4 separate regions of the Homo sapiens genome follow, and all the other regions are linked to region 4. The links are contacts of gene promoters, found by promoter capture Hi-C in blood cells and fetal thymus (Javierre and others, 2016). All regions are on one chromosome and are shown on one strand. The core of a region is centred on a gene start or on the middle of the fragment in contact, and the rest is flanking DNA. Distances in the headings are between cores, read along the strand shown. Region 1 overlaps MORC4 (MORC family CW-type zinc finger 4). Region 2 overlaps TBC1D8B (TBC1 domain family member 8B). Region 3 has its middle 11 kb from the start of RIPPLY1. Region 4 holds the start of VSIG1 (V-set and immunoglobulin domain containing 1).

Region 1 (5,449 bases), core at 1,468-3,967, 1.1 Mb after region 4:
AAATATTTATTAAGCATCTCTTATGTGCCAGGGCACTGGTTATGAAACAAATACTGTTCCTTCCCTCACAGAGCTTTCAGCCTAGCTGGCAACTCAGACAAATTAAATAAGTAATAAAAAGCTATAAGCATAATAAGAAGGTACAGAATGTTTGAGACAAGTCATCAGGGGAGCCCAATCTGATCCCAGAGGTTAGGAAAAGTATCCTAGACAAAATGATATTTAAGCTGAGATCTAAGGGTGAGTACAGTTTAACCAGCTAAATAAAGGGGCAGGGAGCAAGGGATGACAATTCACACAAAGAGAACAGCAAATATAAAGACCCAGAGGCCTTCACTGGTCCGAGACCTCCAATTTATATTAACCTAAACTCACTCTTAAATCAGAAGTATTGGAGTTGGGGTGATTTATTGATTAGAACCACGAAGGTACCTGGGTATAATCAAACCCCATGCAAGGTAAATAGAAGGCATTCAGACATATATTCTTTAAAGGTTTTGCAGTAGAATCACAAACTTAGGAAATTCTCCTTTCTAACTGTTAAAGCTTGTGCTAGATTTCTATTGCCACTGTCAGTTCATTTAATCACTTTAAAACATTTGTAGTTGAGAACGTAAATTTATACTATATCATCTCCGCATATCACTCAGTGGAATATGAGTATTCCTTCAACTCCTTCCTTCTCTCTTCCTTTTAGCAGATGAGGTTGATTACTCTCCCTGTGGCTTCCTGAACTAGAGTGTGTGAAGCACGAGTAACAATGGTGGAATGCTGTGGAGGAGGGAAAGGGCTCCAAACTATAAAAATGGAAAACAAATTCATGTGGTTGTAGTTACCCTTGTAGGTATTCTAAATCAATTACTCTGTTTGTAGGGAAATCCCTTTGATTCATCAAAGAAACAAAAATGAAATTTGGGCAAAGTAAATGGTTGCGTTTTACCACTCAGCAGTCTGTATACCTTGTGTCTCAGACCCTCCTAATTAGAAGACTATTTGAGGAAAACCTCTAAAAGTGAAACAAGAATTGTGACCAGTATGTTAGTGAAGGTAGAAAGTTGGCCCAATCCTTTAACTTATAACATCAGTTTTATATCCTGAAGTTAATATTATATATTAAGAAAAATACAATTTTAGATGGGATGGAACCAAAGCATTTATATGTTCAATTCTGTATGTACTAGTTGGTTGTTTTCCCCGTAAAATTACTTGTCTTCTTATTTTTTGAGACAGAGTCTCACTCCATCACCCAGGCTGGAGTGCAGTGGCATGATCTCAGCTCACTGCAACCTCAGCCTCCTGGTTTCAAATGATTCTCGTACCTCAGCCTCCCGAGTAGCTGGGATTATAGGGGTGTGCCACCATGCCCGGCTAATTTTTTTGTATTTTTAGTAGAGACAGGGTTTTGCCATGTTGTCCAGGCTGGTCTCGAACTCCTGACCTCAAGTGATCTGCCCACCTCAGCCTCCCAAAGTGCTGGGATCACAGGTGTGAACCACCGCACCCATCCAAAATTGCTTATCTTCTTAATGACTCCTTCCCATCATACCTTATCCCATTGACGTGGGTGTTGAGTAGTGGGCCCAGCACATCTGATCTTCCGTTTTGTCTGTGGGACTACATCTGTGAAACTTGGTTAGAGTTATAAGGTAGAAGGGAGGAGAAGAATGGTTTCAAAATAATTGCCACAATTTTTGTTCCAGATTCATTCATTTATTCATTCAACAAATTTTTATTGAGCACCTGTGTGCAAGGCACTGGAGATAAAGTGGTGAACCAGATAGACATGATTCTTGGCTGACAGCTTAATGAGAAAGAACAAAATTGACTAGTAATATAACTAAATAGGCTATTCCACCCAGTGGTAAGTGCTATGAAGGTAGAGCACAGTTTCTTTGAGAACGTATAACAGGGATCTAATCTAGTCTAGGGAATTAAAAAAGGCTCCCCTGAAGAAATGACATTCAAATTGAAATATGAAGGATGAGTATCACCCATTCAAATTTTTTATTCCCTCCCCAAGGAGCAAAATAGGTAGAAACTTTCTTAGCTATAGAATTTTCCCTATCATACCAAATATGTTTACCACTGATTTGAGCTGGGCAATTGTTCCTCCTATTTAAAAAATAATTTTAGAAAATTATTTTAATGAGTCCTTAATGTAATATATGTACTGAATTTTATTTGTGATTGTATCTTGAAACAAACTTGAATCAGCTAGAAGATACCTTTTTTTTTAATTAAAAAAAAATTTTTTTGAGATGGAGTTTCACTCTTGTCCCTCAGGCTGGAGTGCAATGGCATGATCTCAGCTCATTGCAACCTGCCCCTCCTGGGTTCACGCAACTCTCCTGCCTCAGCCTCCCAAGTAGCTGGGATTACAGGCAGGTACAATCACGCCCAGCTAATTTTTGTATTTTTAGTAGAGACGGGGTTTCACCATGTTGGCCAGGCTGGTCTTGAACTCCTGACCCGAAGTGATCAGCCCGCCTTGGCCTCCCAAAGTGCTGAGATTACAGGCATGAGCCACCGTGCCCGGTGAAGATACCATTTATTTAAAAGAGATCATTTAAGGCCAAGCATGGTGGCTCATGCCTATAATTCTAGCACTTCCAAAGGCCAAGGCAGGCAGATTGCCTGAGTCCAGGAGTTTGATGCCTGCCTGGGCAACACAGGGGGACCCCATCCTTACAAAAAAATACAAAAATTAGCTGAACATTTTGGCATGCACCTGTAGTCCCTGCTACTCGGGAGGCTGAAGTGGGAGGATTGCTTGAACCCAGGAAGCGGAGGTTGCAGTGAGCTGAGATTGTGCCATTGTAATCCAGCTTGGGCAACAGAGGGAGACCTTGTCTCAAAAATAAATAAATAAATAAATAAAAATAAAAGAGATTTTTTAGTCCAATCCTAACTTCCAGCAAAGGATTCTATTTTTTTTTTTATTAGATGGAGTTTTGCTCTGTCGCCAGGCTGGAGTGCAGTGGCGCGATCTCGGCTCACTGCAACCTCCGCCTCCTGGGTTCAAGCAATTTTCCTGCCTCAGCCTCCCGAGTAGCTGGGACTACAGGTGTGCGCCACCATACCCAGCTAATTTTTGTAGTTTTAGTAGAGACGGGGTTTTACCATGTTGGCAGCCAGGATGGTCTCCATCCCTTGACCTTGTGATTCACCTGCCTCGGGCTCCCAAAATGCTGGGATTACAGGCATGAGCCACCACGCCTGGCCCGAAGGATTCTATGTTTTCTGGGTTTTTTTTTTTTTTTTGGATGGAGTTTCACTCTTGTTGCCCAGGCTGGAGTGCAATGGTGTGATCTTGGCTCACTGCAACCTCCGCCTCCCGGATTCAAGTGATTCTCCTACCTCAGCCTCCCGAGTAGCTGGGATTACAGGCATGCGCCACCATGCCTGGCTAATTTTGTATTTTTAGTAGAGACGGGGTTTCACCATGTTGGTCAGCTGGTCTTGAACTCCCTAACTGAAGTGATCCGCCTGCCTCGGCCTCCCAAAGTGCTGGGATTACAGGCATGAGCCACCGTGCCTGGTGCTGTTTTCTACTTGAAGGCATATTACTTTTGTATTTGGAAAAAATAATAGAAGTAATTATACAAATTTATTAAGCCTACAGAAGTTCTATTTGACCTCTAACATTTGTTGTTACACTGTCCACACTTTCCAACTCTTTATGCAACTCTATTTTCAGGCTGATAAAATAGTTGTGTAACTGTAGCAACAGTTTCTTCCATAAACATAGACTTTCATGAAAATCAAATTAAAAAGGAAAAACCTATTATTAAATTCCTTTAAGGTCCACAACTAATTATCTTTAGCTTCTGGGGCTAGTGTGTGGATCAGTTAGTCTGTATATTCAGCTGCCTTTTTCAGCAAGGTGGAAAACCTCTTTCAAAGTTCAAAGACTAAAAACAGCCACAGAACCACAGAAGGTATTTGCTACCTGTGCTCAGAAGTGCACTTCCTAGCAGGTGTATTCTTCTAAAACAATAGCTGGAGAATAACAGTCTGCTTAGCACTCTTTCATTCTTTTATATTACATATTAAATCACAAGTATACCTAGGAAATAGCAGTGCCTGCCTTTGTGCACCCATGGATTTTGCCAAGGTTTGTTTCATTGGTCAGAGTCTTTACTTATTTATTATTTTTCTTAACTTTTATTTTTGGTTTGGAGGTACACGTGAAGGTTTGTTACATAGGTAAACACGTGTCATGGCAGAGTCCCAATTTAAATTTACCTCTCTGGATTCTGGATTCTTGACATTTTAAGATACTCCAGAGCAAGCTGCTGTATTTTTGGATTCCACTAAAAGTGCTGGTATCCAAGCCACCTTGATGTGTAAACAGTGTTGTCTCTCACACGAGAGGATAGAGCAGGACTGACTTAGCAAATAGAAACCACCTAAACCAAGTTATCTCTGTGGAAAATTATTACTGAGCTATAGCAAACTATCAAATTCATTATTACAATTCTATTATTATGTGTGGTGAGGGCTTTTGTGTTAGGTAGTTATTTGATTGGTACCTGACATTGATTCTGCCAGTTTGCATTTAAATAGAATGCCGAACATGAGAACTTAGGTGGAATAAAAGAGCACACGGGAAGAGTTAAGTGAAACACAGTAACAACAACAAAAATCCAGAGTTTATAGCTCCTCTCTTCTCGTTATTCTTATCCTTTTCCATTCTGGTTCTGGCCTGGCACTACTACTTATCTTCTCAACCTTGTATCATAATTTGGTCTCCTCAAATTAACACAGTGAGGGTTTATACTTTCAAAGGGGAAAAGAGGTGATAGATGGTGGAAGAGGCTAAAAAATTAAGGGAGTTGTAATCTCCCTATTTTCACCACTTTCCCTTGATCACCTAATTGAAGCTTTTGTGGTATAAGAGAAAGTTGAAGTCCGGTTAACGATACAAATTCATTTGAAGTGATGTGTAAGATTACTATTTATGAAGAGCCCTGAGCTTTAGATGTGACCTTAGGTCTGAAGTAGGAGTAGGGGATAGCACATGACAACTATCAGAATGACTTCTAGAGTTAGTTTAAAATTAATGTTTGAATACTACTTTATACTTAATGTATTTTGCATACAGTATATAATTTAATCCTCATAACAAACCCATTTTTTTTAAAAGCCAATTCTTCCACAAGAAAAATGGGAATGCCTGAATCTTACTATTATAAGTCTGTATCCTGGAATACTAAGGCCCATAGGCAACACAAACTGAAGTTCTTTTTCTTTTTTTTTTTCCCAAAGGACTGCTGCCATGGAAATTACCTTTTTCTGTCACTAGATTTATTTGTAGGATACACACAGCTCCTATAAAGTATCTACTCTAGGAGGACATATGGTATTATTGTATAATGCTTTGAAACAGAAAATTAAAAGGTGGTTCCCTTTCTTAGTGAGTAAACACAAAACCGCAATCTTCAGGAAG
Region 2 (5,862 bases), core at 1,850-4,349, 1.2 Mb after region 4:
AAGCCTCTAGAAGCTGAGGGTGGCTGCCAAGTGACTACCAGCAAGAAGCTGGCATCCCAGACTGGAAACCATAAGGAAATGAATTCTGCCAAAGCCTGAGTGAACCTGGAAGTGGATTATTCCTTAGATGATCCTTTACATGAGAACCATCCTGGCTGACACTTTGGTTGCAGCCTTGTGAGATCCTCTAAGCAGAAGATCGACCTAAGTTGAGCCCAGAGTCTTGACCCACTGAAATGGTGAGATAATAAATGTGTGATGGAATTAGCTATGCAACAATAGAAAACAAACACACTGTTCAATTTGCTTTCCACCCTCTTAGTTTGCCTTTCTATACTGTAGAGGCTAAAAAGCTAAAAGTAAATTTCCCAGATTCCTCTGCAACTAGGATTCTGGATTTATTAGAGGCCAATCAGATGCACACATGTGAGATTTGAATGACAGAAGTGAGGTGTTGGCTATGTTTCTGCCATTTCTGCTGGTAAACATAGTTGTGAAGATGTTTGGCTGTTCTATTGCAATTTAGTCATCAGTTTGTGGGTGATGAGAGGCAGGGTGCCTGCCATCTATTTTGCTAGTGTAAGTCACAGCAGTTGAAGCATGGTTTCTGAGGTAGCAGCAGTAGTGATGGCTTTTTATGACAGCAGTAGGAAGTAGCAGTGTCCTTAACACTGAAGAGTTAGCAATTCCCTTGGTGGCCTGATAGTGGTGTGCCTTTGGAAGTTGTTCTTCAAAGCTCAGTTTAGTCCATCCTCCTGATAATTATGTAAGCCACTTGATATCTAGTAATAAATCTTTTCCTGATTAAACTAACTAGAGTGAATTAGCTCTCTGCAATTGAATTCTGATACAAGAGGGAAGTCCTCAAGTGATATCTGAGTGAAGTGCAAGTAAAAATACATCATAGTTCTGTGTGAACTGAAATTTAGAAAAAGAAAAAAAAAAAGCCTGAACATGGTGACTCACACCTGTAATCCACATTTTGGGAGGCTGGGGCGGTAGGATTGCTTGAGCCTAGGAATTTGAGAACAGCCTGGGCTACATAGGGAGACCACATCTCTACCAATAAATAAATAAATGAATGAATGAATAAATAAATAAATAAATAAATAAATAAGCCAGGCATGGTGGTGTGTATCTGTGGTCTCAGCTACTTGGGAGGCTGAGACATGAGGATTGCATGAGCCTGGAAGATCAAGGCTGTACTGCACTCCAATCTGGGTGACAGAATTAGACCTGTCTGTCTGGGTGACAGATTGAGACCTGTCTCAATAAAGAAAAAAAAAAAAAAGAAAAAGAAAGAAAAGAAAAGAAAAAGGAAAAAAAGACATCATAATAAATAATACTAATCTTTTTAAGTAAACCATTTTTCATGTTTAGTAGATATATTTATTTTTATAAAGACAAGTAAAGCCACCTTATAACATATTTAATTTAATGCATAAGGTATAATGAACTGGTTCAGTTTAACACAACTACGTAAGATTTTTAATATTATGAACAACCTGTTTGGTTAACAAGATAGCAGCTATAAAACTATAATGTTTAGTTTGTTTCTCCTGCAGACTCAGAAAATAAATGTTTTCTTTTTGCTTTGCATTTATAAACTTTTTGCAACTCAAAAAATCTCTTTCAGTATTCAATTTTAATTAATCTAGCCTAAAGTATAATACTCAGCAATCTGTACTATTCTGACTTTAAAATCATATCAAATATTAATAACATATATGCTCTTAAGAAAGTACCTTTCTTTGTAAATACAACTGACAAAATATTCAGCAAAGTGTGTACAATAGTGCCTTGTATACATGTGTCTTTCTAGAGCTACTTCAGTATAATTTAACAATCATTGCACAATAGCAGATGTATAATAGTTTCCATATAAACTATTATCTAAGCTGTAAAATATGGACATAGTTCAGCAAATCATTTCTGAGAAAAGGCATAGATGTTTATTTACCAACTATCTCTTTAAGTGGTAATTTCCTTGAAAAGACAAGGTTGATTAAATAATTTAAAGACACTACTAGTAAGTGTTTAGCTAAAACCAATTTATGGGATTTTCAAAGGCTCAACTTGAAAATTCTTGAACTTCTTTGAAAATAACATATTCTATGAGCGATGAAGCCCCATGTGTTAAGCTTTGTTCACAGTGGATTCTTCCCAAAGGCTGACTGTACCAACTCCCTCCAAGAAAGGGAGACCTCTTGAGTCACTCTGAAGGAGGTCTGCCCTTTCATGGTTTCACATCTAGAAAAGTCAAAAGGCTTATAACCAAAGTCTTTTCTAAAGAAAGAAGCTCCAATGAATGATTTCTCCCCCTATTTTCTAAGTCAATTGATTAATAAATTGTCCTTGGTAGGAATAGCACAGGACAGTGGACAAGTATGGTTTGCTTTTTTTTTTTTTGAAAGTGCTAACAAAGCCCATTATCTCTAAATGGACTTGGTGTAATGACTGAAATATAAACAGCATAAAGTATATAGAAATTACACATCTAAATTGGATAGTCAAAACTTTTTAGACAGATGTCAGCAATTCTGTTACCTTGGCAATCATTACATACAAGTATACTTTATATGCTTGCCAGACTAATAAGATAATTCAGTCTTAGTGTAGCCATTCTTTACTATCTAATGTAAATTAACACATGACTGGTGAAAATCCAAAATCTAAAGCTAGAACCAAAACAGTCATAAGCTACTCTGAGACAAATACCACAAACAGCAGTGCCCAGAATTTCTAGTGATGTCTCGGTCTAATGAAAGACCTATACAGTTAATTGAACTGTTTCTTAGCCCTTCTCAGAAGGCTGATTTTACCCAGATTAAATCCAAATCCAATATTGTTTTTTTCTTTATATCAGCCCAGAATTTAGAGTTATTGATTTGCTTTTGTCAGTAACAGAGTTAGCAGTGTGAGTCAGCAGCCTCTGAACCCCTCAGGTAGGAAGACTGTAGAAGGTACTTAAAAAAGCATTTATTACTAGAAGACTGAATGAGATTAACTTAAAAAAATTAATAATATTTCAGTTAGATAACTTGAAAACAAGGGCCCCAAATGGTAATCTTTTAGATAATTTGGAAAGTAGGGTTTATCGATTGACATGACATATCAGCCTCACTAACACCCAAGCATAACACCGTCTTTTCAAAATAATCAGTAATTCATATGTAAATAGCAACACAAGCTAGTAATTTCCTTACTAAAAGTGATATGCTTGTGCCCTCTGGTGGTAACATTTAGCATATTCCCCTGATATTGCATATATTGTGAAATATAAAAAAGTATATTTGTATTTGAGAATATCATCAAAATTTGAGATAACAAATGTGGTTTGCTTTTTTGTTTTGTTTGTTTGTTTGTTTTAAAAAGTGCTAACAAAGCCCATTATCAACAACAAAGGAATGATGCATTGTGCTTCTGGATATATATTTTGGCCTTCAGACACATTGGTAACAAGATAAATCCCTGAGCCCTACTCACAGGAATCAAACTGACAGCTACAGGAATGTTAGTAAACTTGTCTATGATAGGCAATTCCTAGGGATTTACATCTTGGTTCTAGACCTTAACTGAGAAATTCTTGCATTTTCCAGCTTGGCTTTTACATCTATGGGTTTCTCAAAAAACCTCACCAATGCTGGTTCATTCAACAGCGATGCAAGAATCTGTTCAAATGCAAATGACCACTGAGGTTCCTCCCTAAAGGAACAAGGATCTTTCTCCAAGTGGCTCCCTGTTTTTTCCTCACTGGGTCCTCCAGAACCACAGACAGTACCAGAGAATCCTTTGGCTGATGATGTAGGGCTATGTAGTTTCCTTCCAACTTCTTCCATCCTGAGTAAAAGGCTGGTTACAACAGCAATGGCTTGATATAATGATTCTTCTTCAGGGTCCTCATGAAATAAGTTATAGAGGGTCTTTGAAAACTGAATAAACTGAGACTAGAAGACACAAGTTGAAAATATCACGTTTGAATATTAGACTTAGCAAATATAAAGAGAACTTAGAAGTGAATAGTCTCCTATATAGGATTTGTACCATAGAAGCTTCACCCTAGAAGTTATAAGAACTGGTGATTAACCCCAAAATACATATTGGTTCTAGAAAGGTGAGTATGGGCCAGGCGCGGTGGCACATGCCTGTAATCCCAGCACTTTGGGAGGCCGAGGCGGGTGGATCATCTGGGGTCAGGAGTTCGAGACCAGCCTGGCCAACGTGGTGAAACCTCTACTAAAAATACAAAAAATTAGCTGGGCGTGGTGGCAGGCACCTGTAATCCCAGCTACTTGGGAGGCTGAGGCAGGAGAATCGCCTGAACCATGGAGGCAGAGGTTGCAGTGAGCCGAGATCGTGCCATTGCACTCCAGCCTGGGCAACAAGAGAGAAACTCCATCTTAAAAAAAAAGATGAGTATGAACCATGGAAGAAAATTTCATTTAAGTGCTCTCACTTATTGCCTAATAGTACATTTTATCCAGACTAATTCCTGGACTGTTTGCCTGCCAGCATTACTTAAATGTTAGGTGCTATTTTTTTTTCCTTAGACAAGGCCTTGCTGTGTTGTCCAGGCTTGAGTACCATGGTGCAATCATAGCTCACTGCAGCTTCCAACTGCTGGGCTCAAGTGATCCTCACACCTCAGCTTCCCAAGTAGCTAGGACTATAGGCACATGCCACCATGCCTGGCTAATTTTCACATTTTTTGTAGAGACAGGATCTTACTATGTTGCCTGGGCTGATCTCAAACTCCTAGCCTCAAGTGCTCCTCTCCTACTTTGGCCTCCCAAAGCACTCAGATTACAGGCATGAGCCACTGCGCCTGGCCAGGTGGTACTTCTAATTAGGCAAAGTCCCTTTGAAGCTGTCCTCAGAGGGTGAACAAGAATTCTGGACAGAAATATAGTTAAAATTATGCATAAATTAGGCTGCACTTTGACCTGCTTCCATGGAATGAAAAGTCACTGACATTAGAATCATAGGCTTTTGTTTAAGAATTGTTTAAGATGTTTAATCCTGAATTCCATATATATATATATATATATATATATATATATAAATATTTTTCTGGGTTCCTAGTTCACAACTCCCATAGTCCTTTGTTACAGTCTTTTCTTCCCTTCCCTTCTCTCCCCTTTCCCTCCCCTTCCCCTTCCTTCCCCCTCCCCCTCCCCTCCCCTTCCTTCTTTCTTTTTGACAGAGTTTCGCTCTTGTCACCCAGGCTTGAGTGCAGTGGTGAAATCTCAGCTCACCCAGGTTGGAGTGCAATGGTTAAATCTCAGCTCGCCCAGGCTGGAGTGCAATGGTGCAGTCTCGGCTCACTGCAACCACCACCTCCCAGGTTCAAGTGATTCTCCTGCCTCATCCTCCAGAGTAGCTTTCTGATAGTCGGTCTTAAAACCCTCCCTAGAAAGGGTCTTACCTCATACCCTTAGGGGAAGGAATGCTGACATCATGAAGCTTCCATAAAAACCCAAGATAACTGGGTTCAGGGAGCTTCTGATAGCTGAATGCATGGAGGCTGACAGGAGGAAGGTAAAGAAGAACTCATCCTCATGCCGGGAGGGTGGTGCACCCCAACTCCACGTGGAGAGAAGCTCCTGCGCTTGGGACCCTTCCAGACCTCGCCCTGTGTATCTCTTCTTCTGGCTGTTTATTTGTATTCTTTAAAATATCCTTCTTAGTAAACCAGTAAATATAACTATTTCTCTGAGTTCTGTAAGTCTCTCTGTAGCAAATTAATCGAACTCAAAGAAGGGATAGTGGGAACCCCAACTTGAAGTTGGTCAGCCAGAAGTTCAGGAGGCTCAGACTTGTTACTGGGGGAAAGGAGGGAGCAGTCTTGGGGACTGAACACTC
Region 3 (5,839 bases), core at 1,594-4,093, 1.2 Mb after region 4:
TTGGGAAAACTGAGGCTTAGAGTGGTTTTTAAAACTTGCCCCAAATCACACAGTTGGTAAATTGTGGCACCTTCTAAGCGTCAGGCTTTTTACACATTTTACCTCATTGAATCCTTATGGCAACCCTAAAACTCAAGCACTATTATTTTCCTTGTTTTATGGATGAGGAAACTGAGGTTCAGAGAGGTTAAGGAATCTTAAGGTCACGTAATTAATAAATGACCGATCCAAGATTTGAGAGATGACAGCAATTGCTCCAGGTTACATTAATGGTAAGTGGCAGAACTAGAGTTCAGGGCTGCCTGACACCAGAGCCCTGTGCTTTCAGGAGGTGGAATCAACAGGGTTTGCTGAAGGATTAAATCTGTGGGAGGGCAAGGGAGAAAAGATTTAAGTTCTGGCTGCAGGGAAGTGAGTCAGAGGATATGAAGAACTCTGGGCCAGGGGCCAGGAAACACTGAGGGCCTCTGAAAGGTGTCACTGAGGGAGGAATGTTTGGGGACCTCCTGCCCGGCAGTGGCAGGCTCTCACAGCACCTGGGCTGTGGGCACAGGGCTACCAGGGGTGAGAGGGGGATGAGGGAATTCTGTTCCTGCCCCTCGGTGCTGTGCTGCCTCAGAGTGGAATGGGCCCTGGCTGGGCATGTCTCACTCTGGCTGAAAAGTGGGAGGAACTACCAATTGCTGAGCTCTCCCGTTCTATCCCAGGCACTGTGCTTGGCACCACACACACTTTATCCTGAACTGGGTGGTGGTGGTGGTGGGGCATCCTAATGTTTACAGATAAGAAACTGGGACTCAGAGAAGTGAAGTGACCTGTTAGTAGCACAGGCAATGAGTGGGAAGCTGGGGTAGAACAGGACAGTGCGACTACAGAGTCCTGGCTCTTAACTACTAGGCTCCTCCTTCCCTCCTCCTTATTCCCCCAGAGAAGCCCTGAAAGTCCCTTAGGGCAGGCAGCTCACCCTGGCCTCCTGCAGCCTACGGGGAAAGAAGTGTGTAAACTGTCACAAAAAGGCATTGCTATCCCCATCACTGGGGACACCTTGAGGCCTGGGACCAAGTGTGAATTAAAAGAGGTTGAGGGAGAGACCAGGAACCAGCTGGAGTCAGGCTCTGGGTTTTTCTAGAAGTCTTCCATCCAAGGGAGAGAACAGCGGCCTCCAAGTCCCTAGCGATTCAATTCGTTTTCGCTAACAGCAAGACAGGCAGCCCCCTCTAGTGGCTGAGCTCTAAACCTACAGCACAAAGCCCAGGATGAGCAGGGCTCATCCATCCAGAGGATTCTATGGCCAGCACTGTTTTGTACCTGGTGGTTATAGGGACAGACTCTGGATTTAAACCAAACCTGGGTTCAAATACTGGCTCGACTCCTTGTTAGCTAAGTGACCATGAGAAAATGTCTCTAAGCCTTAGTTTCTTCATGTATAAAATAGGAATGATAATAATACCATTTTAACAGGGTTAATGTAAGAATTAAATGAGACAGCATATGTAAGGGGCTGGCAGAGTACTTGGCACATTACAGATGTGATAGAGACATGCACATATATTTATATATACATGTACACACACTACTATACATTGTGCATAGGTGTATATATGAATGTATACACATCTAATAATTGTTCTTTTTTGACACATGCTATCATAATAGTCGTCACCACTTTGACTTCCCTTGCCTTTCCCATCTGATATGGTTTGGCTGTGTCCCCCCTGCCCCCAATCTCAAGTTGAATTGTGGTTCCCATAATCCCCACATGTCATCGGGAGGGACCTGGTGGGAGGTAACTGAATCATGGGGGCGGTTACCTCATGCTGCTGTTCTCATGATAGTGAGTTCTCAGAAGAGCTAATGGTTTTATTAGGGGCTTTTCCCCAATTTGCTTGGCAGTTATCCTTGCTGCTGCCATGTGAACAAAGACTTGTTTGCTTCTCCTTCCATCATGATCCTAAGTTTCCTGAGGCCTCCCCATCCCTGGGGAACTGTGAGTCAATTAAACCTCTTTCCTATAAATTACCCAGTCTTGGGTATGTCTCTATTAGCAGCATGAGAACAGACTAATACACTATCTATCTAGCTCTACTAAACCCTGGTGCCCCAATTACTGTCAACACACTCCCCTGAAGCTTATGGGAAAGACATGGGCTAAGATACTTGCTTTTCTCCATGCACACTTTCAAGAATCTTGGACTGCACATCTTTGTCCTTCAATATTCTGGGAATGTTAATAAGCTTGCTTTACACAGGTGCTACGCTCTTTCTGTGTTTCAAAGCAACTTTACCTCCGTGATCTCATTTGAATCTCTTAATACTCCCAGTACTCTCATTTTTTTTCATTTTGTTTTAGATACGGGGCCTCACTGTCACCCAGGCTGGAGAGTAGTGGCTCAATCATAGCTCACTGCAGCCTCAAACTCGTGGGTTCAAACAATACTTCCACCTCAGCCTCCTGAGTAACTAGGACTGCAGGCGTGTGCCATCATGCTCTGCTGTTTTTTTTTTTTTTTAAATAGAGACAGTGGTCTCATTTTGTTGTCCAAGCTGGTCTTGAACTCCTGGGCTCAAGCAATCCTTCTACTTCAGCCTTCCAAATTGGATTACAGGCATGAGCCACTGTACCCGGTAACATTTTTAAATGAGGATATTGAAGATGATGACATGGGAAATGACTTGCTCAAGGTTGCATAGCAAGTCAGTGCAGGAGTCAGAACTAACCTCCAGAATCTCGATGTTGAGTCCAGTGCTTTCTACCAACCCTTGCAATCGTCCAGGGCCTTAAGCTCTGACTAAATATGAAGCACTTGTAATCCAGGACAGAACTTACTTTTGAAGGCCACACCACTACACTTTGACACCAATCTCCTGCTTCTACTGAGGCCAAGGTTGTATCTCCAGGAAACTATCAAACTATGATTCTTTACCTATAAGAAGTGGTGCCATGTTGCCAGGACTGGTGACCCAAGACAGCTACATCTCCGAAACATGCAAAGAATACAATTAAATGTTAGATGATGGGTTTGCAGAGAGGTGAACATTATCTTTTCAGCCAAGCTGCATGCACTGCTAAAGAATTAGCTGCTGTCCTGTACTCACAGCCAGCTTGACTTAGCCACTCTTTTTGTGTTGGACATAACCATCAGTGTCTCAGAAGGGCAGCCTTGTCCCTAGTCAGCACAAAAATTGGGAGGTGTTGATGCATGTCAGCAGCATGGGTCCTGATGGCAGCATCTGTTTGTAGGCACTGAGAGAAGCAGTACGATAATAACTCAAAGCTCTCAGTGTCATTTGATATTACTTTGGGGGCAGAGGATGCAGGCTTGGCTGTCAGTAGCAGTGGCCGTGTTTTCTCATTCTAACACACTGGTGACAAAATGAGCACTGCTGAGATAACAAATCATAGAGCCCAAACACCCTCTCCCTAGCCCCCATGTGACACTGGCAAGCTTGGTTCTGCTCAGAGGGGAAGCTTGTTACTTCCTTCTGGAGTGTTGGATCTCTGGGTGGCACTGAATTTTTCTTTCTGCTATCACTTGTTTTTTACTTGCTCATCACCATGGCAACTCGAGAGCGGGAGCCAACATTGAAATCAATCTCTCCCCAATAGACATATGTGGAACAGCAAGTGTACTCCCTCTCTAATATTAGGGAAGCAAAACATTTTTAACCCTCTCTCCGTGCTTCAGCCTTGGTCCGTGGTGATAGAAAATACTTTCACCTGCAATTTCGGGCACCTTTGCTCTTCCTGCATGGGAGTTTCCAATCTCATTGGTCTGAGGCCAATCATTGGGCCACAGCTCACCAGTGACTCAGGTCATTACAGTGAAAAGAATCATACACATCTGTGACTAGATAGCCGGTTCCACTTGCTGCTGGATGATTGGGTCAGGCCAAATTTGTTCTGAAGACTTTAGCTTCTCAGATTCAGAGTGAAGGGAGTAGCTTAAGCTGCACTTTCCAATCAATTTTTTTAAACCAAAGAACCTGCAACAGAAAGAGGAGAACAAGGTTACCAAGCCTATGCTGAATTCTCAGATCAAGCGTTTATTAATAAATACTTTGCTTACTATTCTACTATTGCTCATTATACATATAATTTTCTTGGTGGGAAGGGTTGAGGAGAAGGGTAAGATTCAGGAATTCAGGAATAAAAACTCCAACTTGAACCCACAACATCTAGGAAGGTTTGCCCAAGGTCAAAGTCTTGTCCCAGCCTATGTCTACACTGGGCAGAAAGGATGCACGTGTTCAATTTCCTCACCTTCCACTGATTTCTCGAGGATTTTGGGAGTACATCCAATTGAAAATCAAATTTTATATTGAGCTTTCAGTAGTGTGTAACTCTTGCACGGATACCGAGACGTGACCTGCCCATGTAATGAAATCGTTAGCCTGGGAGTAGGAGCTTTGCCTTGGACTAACAGTCAAATTTCCCCCTGCTCAAACACAACCATAGAAACTTGAGTACCAAAACGTTCTTGGAAAACTGTTGACAATTTCCACGTGTAAGAAAGCCCTGAAATAAAAAGCCATTCTTTGTAAACTTAGCAGATTTTTTTGAGTGGATATTTAATATCTTCTGAGATGGGGGCAGTGCGCTGGGAAGGAAAGGGCACCAAGCATCAGGAGACTGACTCAGGTACTTGTTTAGTTCTGTCATTTATTACTTGTTCAGTCCTCTAATACGTTGGACAAGTGATTTAATTTTCTCATCTCTAAAATGGGGACAACCTTTAGCCTATCAACCTCGCAGGTTTTTGGGAATGAGGTTCCAGTATATAGTTATATGATTAAACCACTCAGAAAACTGTAAAATGTTACATAAAGTTGTATTTTATAAGCACTGTGAAAAGAACTTCAGGATAATAGTCTGCCTTTCAAAATGCAGACACAAGCGCTATAAATTTCTGGGAGAAACCCTTGGCGATCTTCATAGAAGTCATTCATGCAAATTGCTAGAGAAGCTAAACCTCATGGCTTCACTTAAAAAGGTAGTAGAAATAGTTTTTGTCTGCCCACCTTTCCTGGATACCCCATTTCCTAATCAACTTGGGGCAGTTTTCCAAGAGGCCCTGTATGTGAAACTGTAAATGTGGGAGCAGTAACTTTGCCTGAATTACTGAGAGTGGTGACATTTGGTGGTTGCCATTGGCAATAGCTTACAAAATCTGAAGTTCACATTATTTCTCCGAGGCTAGGCTGCTTGTGCATTTGAGTAACACGAACATATTATTTCATTCTTTTTTTTCTTTTTTTGAGACAGTCTCACTCTGTTGCCCAGGCTGGAGTGCAGTGGCGCGATCTCGACTCACTGCAACCTCCATCTCAAGGGGGCAAGCAATTCTTATGTTTTATATAACTCCAGAAAATGTCCAGGCGAGCGCCAGCATGCCCAGCTAATTTTTGTATTTTTAGTAGAGACGGGGTTTCATGTTGGCCAGGCTGGTCTTGAACTCCTGACCTCAAGTGATCTGCCTGCCTCAGCCTCCCAAAACGCTGGGATTACAGGCGTGAGCCACTGCACCCGGCTACATATTATTTCACTCTGAAGGCACTCAGCATGTTAGTAAAATTGACTTTTTTTTTCCTACAAACAACTTTAAGGATTCATACTATTTAAACTCCAAAAAGGTAGAGGGAAATTTTCAGTTTTTTTTTCTCTAAAATAGTGGAAAAACTTACAAATAATCCATAAGAGAATAATTCCAGGCACAAGAACACCACCAAAAATGGTAGGCAAAATTCCAACTGACCAAAATGTTTGCTGAAACATAAAAAGTAAAATGAAGATAGAGTCATGGGAATACAAATAAAATGATCAAAGGTAGGAGAGTTTCTT
Region 4 (5,112 bases), core at 1,017-3,516:
AAGAAGTCATTGAAAATATTTTGATTTAAGCAAAATCTGACCTGTTTAGTTATATCAAAATCAATTTTAAATATGTATGTGAAAATGATGTCTGGATGTTTGGAATTTGGGAAAGTAATTCATTCTTTCAACAAACATTTACTATGCATCCACTATGTGTTAGGCACCACGCTTAACACCAAAAAGTGACATTCTCTCCAAAACAAGTCCAGGAAGAACATCAAATTGCACATTGATGGAAACACTATCAGTTGTCCAGATCAACTGATGAACACTGCTAATGACAGGTGTAGATTACTAAAGTGATCCTTTCTCTGACTTCAATACATATGTAAGCACAGCAAACGACAATAGAGCATACCACAATTTGCTGTACTGACACTACTGCTTTGGGCCAACTAGATAATATGTGTGTAGATATATAGTGTACACTATATACCAACAAAATCAGTTATATAGTAACTTAGGAAACACACTCTGAAGTATTTATTGGTCTTGTTCTAAAAGTCACAATAAAATAAAATCCTGACATGATGCTAAACAATTTTTTTAAACAATAAAAAAGTATACAAGGAATAAACCCAATTTTTAAAATGTAATATATACACCTGCAAATAAAAGAATAATAATTCACCCAAATCTGAGTGGTAAAATTGCAGATGATTTTTATTTTATTTTAAATTTCCATATTTCCAACCTTTCTACAATGACCATGCATTACATTTATAATCAGTAAAAATTACTTGTATGTTAGGTACAGTTAAAAAAAAAAAAAACTGTTCTTAACAACCGTTCCAAACCCTGTGCCTAGTATGGGCCAGGGCAAGGCTTCACATAGGGAAACAGGTATGATCTTAGAGGGCTGATGCAGAAGGCCCAGGGGTCGACCCAACTGGCTAATGACTGGAAACCCTTTAAGAAGAGACAAAACTTCCATATCTAAAGTTACATTTAAATGAATATGCCTGGGGAGAAGGGAAAATAGGAACATGTGTTTCCAGCTCTAGGGCCTAGTTAGGTCACTGGACAAATGGAGTATTGCCTTCTGGTGATGTTTAACTCCATAAAACATCTATGCTTAAACATTTAGTAATGAACATTTAAAGAACTATTTCTAAACATGAGATCACTTTGAAAAGTAACACTTTTTTCTAATTATAAAAATAGCATAATGTTCTTCGTAGAAAACCCAGGAAGTATGAAAAGCTGGGAAATAAAATTAAAATCATCTATAATCCCATCACCCAGAGGCAACCACCATGAGCACTTCGGTATATAACCTTCTAGTAATTTATTCTAGGCATATGTGTGCATCCTGCTTTTTCACTTAATATTTTATCGTGGGTATTTTCTTATGTCATTAATACGCCTAGTAAACCTCATTCTAACCACTGCCTAATATTACTAATGGCTTGAAAATCCTGTTTTTGGATAAACAATATTATTGTATTTACTATGGACCTAACTTATAAGAACAGATGCAAAATGTATCTGATATTTGAAAACTACCCAAGGGATTTTTGGAATTAATGATCTCTCCTGGATCTAACTAACATCAGTATTTTGATTCCAAAATTGATTTTCTTCTGTTCAGATACCTAAAATCACCCATGTTGTGCACCATAAATCACTCACATATTTTGCAAAATACAGTCTTAGGATTGGAAAACCACAACTCCTTAAGAAATATTAGACAGTAAAGTACTCAGTAAATTTCTGTTCTTCCCATATGTAAGCCAGGGCAGGCCCTCCAACCCAGGCTCTGCCTGCTAGAGCAAGTCAATCACTGAGCTTAAAGGAAACACTAAAGTAAGTAAAACAGAGACAAAATTATCCCTAGCACAAAGTTTGGTTTCTGAGTAAATTCATTTTTTTCACTTTTCAAAGTAAGTAAAGTAATAAACTATATTTTTTTCTGAGAAAATTTTCATTCAGAAGCTCCATAAAACAATAATATTATGGGCTTACACCCCTAATATATCAGCATGGCATATGTTTGCTAAGCAAGAGTTCTGAAAATTAACTCATCATACTAATCACAATTCATTTGAAGTACAGGAGATGAAAATTCTATGTAAAAATGTGGAATTTTTATTTAAAAGGAAACTCTGTTTCCAATTATATTTGGTGGTTTGGAGATCCTTTCCTTACCTGCAAGGCAGCTTAGGATCAGAAAGACCTTCCAAAATGCGAACACCATTGTGTGGAGGTTAGTTGAGAGCAGCAGGTGCCAGTAGCTTGCCTGGACTAGGCTGAGTCTCAAATTGGCTTCTTCGATCACACCGAGGTTTGCCTGGCTTATCTGCTGGGCATCGCCAAGCAAACATGCCTCTTTGGGCTTACTTATTGCGTATAGACTTTTTTCAGTACAGATTTGTGTTTCTTTGAAACACTTTTCATGGGGCGTGTTTCCTTGATATATTTGCTACTGTGTTAATAATAAACCCACGCATTTAAATTATTCAAGCTCCTTGTACACAGATTCTCTAAGTCTCATTGTTTAAAATCAATCTTACTAAAACGTTGTACTTGGGCTGGGGGATATGGTTGGAAGAGAGCCTATGCAAATAAAAGCTGACAAGGCTAATTAATTTCAAATATTTCCATGAGTCTTACAGAATTGATTCACTAACCTCCTTTTACAAATTAAGTTAGTAAATTGGTACTATATCGTTTCCTGGGGAGATGGGGCTCACGGGAAGGGCACAGGGGTTATGAAGCTAAAAAGCATTCATTTCTGTGTGAACAAACTCTGGATATGTTACTCTTTTTTGAAACACTGGCAGTTGTCACTACCCTCCACCAAAACTAGCAGTAAAATGATTTACATGCTTTTGTCTGTCGGGTTAGAAACCTTATAGCACGTATTTGCTAACGTAATTTTGCAAAATCAAGTTAGTGAATACATGCTTAAAGACTTTCTTTGGAGAAGTCTGATTTTTTGGAGAATTAAGATACTCAGTAAATGCTATAGGGTTTCCTTAGAAATGGAGGTTCACCAGGAGGGCATGGGAGGCTCCACAGGTAAGGAACTTTCATGGGAACATGAACTTCTAATAGTGTTCCTATTATGCTTAAGTTACCCGGAGAAACCTAAGGACTTTCTCTGGCTCTTCCCATGTGATTTCTAAGTCCTATCATTTCCATCTCCACAGCGACTTTCAGATGTGTTCTTTCTCCAATCTGCTGCTTCCATCTTGGTCCAGGTACTCAGCTTCCCACTTTGGCCTATCATAGCAGCTTCCTAAGTGGTCTCCCTGACTTATTCCACCTTCATCCTGTGTGCCAGCCGCAGGCCAATGTTCCAGCCCTAGTGAAATATTTCCAGTAACACCATAAATGGACTCTTTCATCAAATCCAAAGTCCTTAATATGGATTCCCATTCTTCCAATATCTGATCCTCACCTCATCTGAACTTTAGCCACATTAACTCATGCCCCTGAAAAAGTATGTCAAGATTTATTGCCTCAAAGTGTTCAGTCACATGAAATGTGTACAAATTTCAAGTGATATGTTTTATGTTCCTGTCTTTAATTTACAGGAAATGTTTGACCCCATCTTACTTTAGCCATTCCAATCTCCCACTGCTTCTTAGAAAGCCATTTTGCTTCCATCATGCCTGATTCCTCCTTGCAGCCTATCCTGTCCATGCTCATGTCTGATGCCAAACGTTGGCTCCAGGTGATTTCCATCACTAGAGTTTTCTTCTTCCTCCTCTTACTAGCCAAGTATATTCTTAGCATAGATCAGTCATACTGTCCTATGTGAGAATTTCAATGAACCGACATACCACCCTAGCATAAATTTCCATTTTACTTAAAGCCAATATCCTACAGCTGACCATTGATTATTCTCCAGTAGTTTCGCATTTATTAACTGGTCTACCTTAAATCTAGTCACTGTGAATCCCTCCAGGGTAGGGACCATGTCTTATACAGGCAGTTCCCAACTTTAAAATGAGCGTGTCCCAAGATGTAATGGTAAACTCGTTGACTGCACGCAAGAACTCCTGCAGAAGCAATGTTATAATATGAGTCTCACTGTCAGGCATGTAGCACATAATCTAGCACTGGCTTGAATTCTGCGTACTGGGCCGTATAAGGCAGTGGAGGGTGAGGAGGAACAGCAGGTGACAGAGAAAGAACGTTCCTTTCATTTCCCAAGATATGACTTGTGCACAAATCAACATTTTCCCCCAAATAACTATTGCATGTCTCTGACATCCACCTTCTCTTCTGCCTCCCACCTTCACGGCCCCCTGGCTCCTGGGTCCCTAGTTTGCCCTAAGGGAGAGTCTCATTCCCCAGAATATCTCATGCTCCAAAATTACTTTTTCCTTTTCACCTCTATTCCTCCCAGAAACCCTCCCTTTCCCCTGTATAAGCAGACAGCAGCTCCATGTTAGGAAGGGAAAAAAAAACGTTTCATTGAACATTCTCCAACCTGTTTGTGCTATTAAAAATACAGTGCTTACTTTCCTCACATAAATCTCTGACCAGGAGAATTAGGCAATGCAATAAAGAGAAATAGTTTGAGGGAGAAGATTTTGCAAAGGAGGACAACTTGTAGGGTGGGTCTCTGGAGATCCATACCACCTTTTCTCAGGCTTGGTTCTGCCTTGACTTCTAAGTCCACCAAGTCTCTAAAAGACCCATAGTTTTCACAATGCCCCCCACCCTGGAAGTAATACCGGTAGTTCCAGTGGTGAGGACGTGGGATGGGGAGCGAAATTTATAAGTCTGGCATTTGTAAGCCAGAAGCTTCCTGTGTTTCCTTCCATGCCCCATAAGTGATTATAGTAGTGTGACCATTGATCATTAAAACTAGGACACTTTTGAAAGTGAAAGGGGCACTATTAGCAATTACCTGGGAAAGACAGCATAAACAGTAACAGTGCCAGACAAACCTGGGTGTCTGGTTACCTACCCACAGGGGATTACTAGGCACAAAGTAGGTGCTAAGTAAGAGCTTGCTAATTAATTCAGTATGTCTGAGTTGGTTGGCCCTAAGATGAGTGCAGCAGAGGGTATGATTTAAGGATATTGCCCAAACCCATCTGCACCAAAATCTGTTGTGCAAACACAAAACACTCTGGAATATTTAAGTAAAAT

The links. The method cuts DNA at HindIII sites, captures the fragments that hold promoters and counts their contacts. A CHiCAGO score of 5 or more calls a contact.
Region 1: a contact is called between a fragment that was not itself captured here and the fragment with the promoter of VSIG1 in region 4, in 1 of 17 cell types (naive CD8 T cells). The highest score is 5.7, in naive CD8 T cells.
Region 2: a fragment that was not itself captured here is called in contact with the fragment with the promoter of VSIG1 in region 4 in 3 of 17 cell types (naive B cells, total CD4 T cells and naive CD4 T cells); the score reaches 8.8 in naive B cells.
Region 3: a fragment that was not itself captured here is called in contact with the fragment with the promoter of VSIG1 in region 4 in 2 of 17 cell types (naive CD4 T cells and total CD4 T cells); the score reaches 6.3 in naive CD4 T cells.

Annotation. Positions count from the first base shown.
Region 1 is chrX:106,987,679-106,993,127 of GRCh38, reverse strand. All of the region lies in intron 3 of MORC4 (MORC family CW-type zinc finger 4), which reads left to right. Among named protein-coding and RNA genes, the nearest start is that of MORC4, 9.8 kb to the left of the region's middle. The HindIII fragment of the contact is 4,337 bases long and covers 549-4,885 here.
Region 2 is chrX:106,871,655-106,877,516 of GRCh38, reverse strand. TBC1D8B (TBC1 domain family member 8B) reads right to left here. Exons shown (of 21, transcript NM_017752.3): 21 at 1,367-3,947. The coding sequence ends at 3,552. Among named protein-coding and RNA genes, the nearest start is that of RIPPLY1, 29 kb to the left of the region's middle. The HindIII fragment of the contact is 1,911 bases long and covers 2,144-4,054 here.
Region 3 is chrX:106,889,912-106,895,750 of GRCh38, reverse strand. No RefSeq gene overlaps it. Among named protein-coding and RNA genes, the nearest start is that of RIPPLY1, 11 kb to the left of the region's middle. RefSeq lists an enhancer at 572-1,096. The HindIII fragment of the contact is 1,211 bases long and covers 2,238-3,448 here.
Region 4 is chrX:108,042,219-108,047,330 of GRCh38, reverse strand. VSIG1 (V-set and immunoglobulin domain containing 1) reads right to left here and starts at 2,266. Exons shown (of 7, transcript NM_182607.5): 1 at 2,152-2,266. The coding sequence starts at 2,200. The HindIII fragment of the contact is 8,448 bases long and covers 1-4,763 here.